Linked DNA regions of Homo sapiens: region 1 is linked to region 2. The links are contacts of gene promoters, found by promoter capture Hi-C in blood cells and fetal thymus (Javierre and others, 2016). All regions are on one chromosome and are shown on one strand. Each heading gives the region's core, a stretch centred on a gene start or on the middle of the fragment in contact. The rest is flanking DNA. Distances are from core to core; before and after follow the strand shown.

Evidence for each region. Contacts are between HindIII fragments. The CHiCAGO score rates a contact against its expected background, and 5 or more counts as called.
Region 1: a fragment that was not itself captured here is called in contact with the fragment with the promoter of NWD1 in region 2 in 2 of 17 cell types (M2 macrophages and M1 macrophages); the score reaches 8.8 in M2 macrophages.

The regions. Positions count from the first base shown.
Region 1 is chr19:16,980,628-16,983,327 of GRCh38, reverse strand. CPAMD8 (C3 and PZP like alpha-2-macroglobulin domain containing 8) reads left to right here. Exons shown (of 42, transcript NM_015692.5): 14 at 2,642-2,700. Among named protein-coding and RNA genes, the nearest start is that of CPAMD8, 45 kb to the left of the region's middle. The HindIII fragment of the contact is 238 bases long and covers 1,280-1,517 here.
Region 2 is chr19:16,718,455-16,721,154 of GRCh38, reverse strand. NWD1 (NACHT and WD repeat domain containing 1) reads right to left here and starts at 1,308. Exons shown (of 19, transcript NM_001007525.5): 1 at 862-1,308. The HindIII fragment of the contact is 21,822 bases long and covers 1-2,700 here.

The DNA.
Region 1 (2,700 bases), core at 149-2,648, 260 kb before region 2:
TCTCAGGTTCAAGCAATTTTGCTGCCTCAGCCTCCTGGGCTGGGATTACAAGCACCTGCCACCGTGCCTTGCTAATTTTTGTATTTTTGTAGAGATGGGCTTTCCCCATGTTGGGGAGGCTGGTGTTGAACTCCTGACCTTAGGTGATCCGCTTGCCTTGGCCTCCCAAAGTACTGGGATTACAGACGTGAGCCACCATGCCCAGCCAGAAAAAGAGGTTTAATGGATTCACAGTTCCACGTGGCTGGGGAGGCCTTACAATCATGGCAGAAGGTGAAAGGTACATCTTACATGGTGGCAGACAAGAGAGAATGGGAACCAAGTGAAAAGGAAAACCCCTTATAAAATTATCAGATCTCACGAGACTCATTCTCTACCATGAGAACTGTATTGGGGAAACTGTCCCCATGATTCAGTTATCTCCCACTGGGTCCCTCCCAGAACACATGGGAATTATGGGAGCTACAATTCAAGATGAGATTTGAGTGGGGACACAGCCAAACCATAGCACCCGAGGCTGGAGGGTGGTGGCACAGTCATGGCTTACTGCAGCCTTGACCTCCTGTGCTCAAGTGATCCTCCTGCCTCAGCCCCCCTAGATAGCTGGGACTATGGGCTTGTGCCACCACACCCAGCTATTTTTTTTATTATTTTTTGTGGAGATGGAGTTTTGCCATGTTGTTCAGGCTGGTCTTGAACTCCTGAACTCAAGCAATCTGCCTGCCTCAGCCTCCCAAAGTGTTAGGATTATAGGCATGAGCCACCACACTCAGCTGACATTCTTCTTTTTGCTGCTCAAATTTTCCAAATTTGGCTGTGGGAGTCCCTTAGGCCCAGCTTCTTAAACAGGCAGATTCTTCCTTTAGGGGGAGGTAGAATGACATTTATTTTTCTTACTATATATTTTTTTAATTAAAAAATATTGATTGATTGATTGAGACAGGGTCTCACTCTGTTGCCCAGGCTAGGGTGCAGTGGCATGATCATGACTCACCGCACATCGACCTCCCTGGCTCAAGTGATCCTTCCGCCTTAGCTTCCCGAGTAGCTGAGACCACAGGCACCCACCACCACATCCACCTAATTTTTGTATTTTTGTAGAGATGGGGTTTCACCATGTTGCTGTGGCGGGTCTTGAACTCCTAGACTCAAGCAATCCTCTCGCCTCGGCCTCTCAATGTGCTGAGATTACAAAGCATGAGCCACTGCGCCTGGCCAAAGTTTTTTGATTTTTTGTAGAGACGGGATCTCACTTTGTTGCCCAGGCTGGTCTCAAGCTTCTGGGCTCAAGTGATCCACCCACCTCAGCCTAACAAAATACTGGGATTACAGGTGTGAGCCATGGCCCCTGGCCAGAATGACACTTATTAGCCACCTACAGTGTGCATTGTGTGATGTTGAGCATGACACACACATCATCTCATTGGAGCCTCAGGACCCTCTGTCCAGGAGATAACAGCCTTATTTTACAGGTGGGGAAACTGAGGCTCAGAGAGGTGAAATGATTTGCCCAAGCTTCCACGGCAAGAATGTCACTCTTCCCCTACTCCAGATATCCCTCTTCTGGGCTTTCAGGGTGATCCCAACATTTGGGGACAGTCACAGATTGCAAAACATGGAACAGAGGCGGGATTCCTAGGGCAAAGTGTTGGACATGGCCACACGCCAACCCCCTAGGGAGATCTTAGGACCTGGGAGGCCTTAGCTTTCCTGATATCAGAATAATGGCAGCTTCAGGGTTCAATGTGGGGCCTTAGCATCAGTTCCCCTGAGTTTGAATCCTGCCCTACACTCATTGACATTGGGCAAAGAACCAAGGCCTCAGTTTCCAGTTTTCCCCTCTAGGAACTTGGGGACTATGATAGGACCCAACTCATTGAGTTCATATCCTAAGAGAAGGCCCAGCCCACTTGTGGCATTAGCACGTTCAAAGTTAGGAAACAGTATTTTATTTTTATTTTTTTTTGGAGACAGGGTCTCACTCTGTTACCCAGGCTGGAGTGCAGTGGTGCGATCATGGCTCACTGCAGCCTTGACTTCCTAGGCTCAAGTGACCCTCCCACTTCAGCCCCCTGAGTAGCGGGGACTACAGGCATGTGCCACCACGCCTGGCCAATTTTATGTGTGTGTGCTTTTTGTAGAGATGGGGGTCTCACTATGTTGCTCAGGCTGCTCTCTAACTTCTGGACTTGAGCGATCTGTCCGCTTCAGCCCCCCAAAGTGCTGGGATTACAGGCGTGAGCCCAAAATACTGGGATCACGAGGTCAGGAGTTCGAGACCAGCCTGGCCAACATGGTGAAACTCCGTTTCTACTAAAAATACAAAAATTATACCGGCATGGTGGCGGGCGCCTGTAATAGCTACCCAGGAGGCTGAGGCAGGAGAATCACTTGAACCCAGGAGGCAGAGGTTGCAGCGAGCTGAGATCTCACCATCGCATGCCAGCCTGGGTGACAAGAGTGAAACACTATCTTAAAAAAGAAAACAAAAAACAAAAAAGCTAGGGGCCAGGACTGGATGCTGGGCACTCCGCTCCCTCAGCCATCCCAACCTCCCTCTGGCCCCAGAATGGCCGTCTTCCTGTGGTGGGTTGCAACATTGGTGCGAGGCAGAGCCCCCCATGCTGCGTGTCTTCCATAGGTTGGGGAAGAAGCCTATTTTTCTGTGAAGTCCACATGTCCCTGCAACTTTACCCTGTA
Region 2 (2,700 bases), core at 59-2,558:
CCCTAGGCTGGGTGCAGTGGCTCACACCTCTAATCCCAGCACTTTGAGAGGCCAAAACAGGCAGATTACTTGAGGCCAGGAGTTCGAGACCAGCCTGGCCAACATGGCGAAACCCCATCTCTACTAAAAATACAAAAATTAGCTGGCGCGGTGGCATGTACCTGTAATCCCAGCTACTCGGAAGCCTGAGGCAGGAGAATCGCTTGAACCCGGGAAGCAGAGGTTGCAGTGAGCCGAGATCGTGCCACTGCGCTCCAGCCTGGGCAACAGAGCAAGGCTCCATCTCAAAAAGAAAAAGTCTCGGCCAGGTGCGGTGGCTCACGCCTGTAATCCCAGCACTTTGGGAAGCCGAGGAGGGCAGATCATGAGGTCAGGAGATCGAGACCATCCTGGCTAACACGGTGAAACCCCGTCTCTACTAAAAATACAAAAAATTAGCCGGGCATGTGGCGGACACCTGTAGTCCCAGCTACTCAGGAGGCTGAGGCAGGAGAATGGTGTGAACCTGGGAGGCAGAGCTTGCAGTAACTGAGATCACGCCACTGCACTCCAGCCTAGTGACAGAGCGAGACTCCGTCTCAAAAAAAAAAAAGTCTCCCTAGACATTGCAATGTCCCCTAGGGGGCAGAATTCCCCTTACTCGAGAACCCCCTAGTCTAATGCATTTAGCTTATTTCAACCTCAGGGCCTTTGCACGTCCTGTACTTTAGTGCTCTATGCTGCATCTGTTCATGTTGTTCACATTTTAGCTTCAATGCTACCTCCTCCTGAGAGGCTGTCTCTGACCATCCCATTGCGTAGTGACCCCTTAAGTCACTCCCAATGCCATCGCCTTATTTTAATTTTCTGCATGGTACTCACCAACAGCTGATATGTTTCTACATGTTATTGTTTGTCTGTCCCACGAGAAAGTGAATTCCATGAGCCCAAGGATCTTGTCTGGTAAGGCTGGCGTGCCTGGCACATAGTAGGTGCTCAGTAAATTATCATCACAACAGCTTCCTCCACAACTGTTTCTCTTTCTGGACTTCTGTTTGTTGCTGAAGAAGACAGCTGAGCAGGACTGGGCTTCCCCAGTAAGGACAGAGGCCCTTTGCAGTGTCAGCGTTCTGGCTGTCCTGGGGGCTCCAGCCTCTCTTTAGCCTTTGCTGGTAGTTGAACGACCAATTTAGACTCCTCTGGGGAAATAGGTTAGAGAGGACAGTTTCCTGGCCTCGGCGCCACCCGGAAGACAAGCCCCTGGCTATCCTAGTAACTTTCGTCTTAGGTATTTTATGGGTCTCTCCTTGCCCAATTCTCCCAGCAACTGGGATAATGAAAGCGATTGTTTGCACTAGGGCACCAGCTTAGCCGGGCATTCAGCCCAGACTTAGTGGTTAACTATTGTGTGCCAGGCTGATACGGCTCCTCGTAAAAGATGCCATTTGCTGACAGTCTAGGAGGTGCAGTTGGTTGGCATTTGGCATTAGCAGTCCACATTATTACCCCAAGAGACAGACATTATGATCCTGTTTCACAGATGAAGAAAACAAGATGCAGAAAGGTGAAGTCCCTTGCCTGTGACGCTTCACTACTCTGCACTTGAATTTTCTCACTAACTTCCTGTGTTGGTGAGACAATGAAAAGCATTTATATAGAGAGTGAGACTAACACTACACCTACATCACAGGAAGGGCCCGTGAGATGTTAGCCATGATTAATTACCATTAAAACTCCAAGACCGGGCACGGTGGCTCATGCCTGTAATCCCAGCACTTTGGGAGGCCGAGGCAGGCGGATCACCTGAGGTCAGGCATTCAAGACCAGACTGGCCAATATGGTGAGACCCCTATCTCTACTAAAAATAGAAAAATTAGCTGGGCGTGGTGACGCATGCCTGTAATCCCAGCTACTTGGGAGGCTGAGGCACAAGAATTGTTTGAACCTGGGAGTTGGAGGTTGCAATGAGCCGAGATCCTGCCACTGCACTGCAGCCTGGGCGACAGAGCAAGACTTTGTCTCAAAAACTCACAAATCACCCGGGCATGGTGGCTCACGCTAGTAATCCCAGCACTTTGGGAGGCCAAGGCAGGCAGATCACGAGGTCAGGAGATCAAGACCATCCTGGCTAACACGGTGAAACCCCGTCTCTACAAAAAAAACAAAACAAAACAAAACAAAAAATTAGCTGGGCGTGGTGGTTTGCACCTGTAGTCCCAGCTACTCAGGAAGCTGAGGCAGGAGAATGGCATGAACCCGGGAGGTGGAGCTTGCAGTGAGCCGAGATCGCACCACTGCACTCCAGCCTGGGTGACAGAGCGAGACTTTGTCTCAAAAACTCACAAGTCACCCAGGCATGGTGGCTCACGCCAGTAATCCCAGCACTTTGGGAGGCCAAGGCAGGCAGATCACGAGGTCAGGAGATCAAGACCATCCTGGCTAACATGGTGAAACCCTGTCTCTACATAAAAAACAAAAAACAAAAAACAAAAAATTAGCTGGGCGTGGTGGTTTGCACCTGTAGTCCCAGCTACTCAGGAAGCTGAGGCAGGAGAATGGCATGAACCTGGGAGGTGGAGCTTGCAGTGAGCCGAGATTGCGCCACTGCACTCCAGCCTGGGCGACAGAGCAAGCCTCCATCTCAAAGAAAAAGTAATAATAATAGTGTTACTATATTTTCAGGGATAGAAGTTTCAGATACTTGGTCAGGCGCGGTGGCTC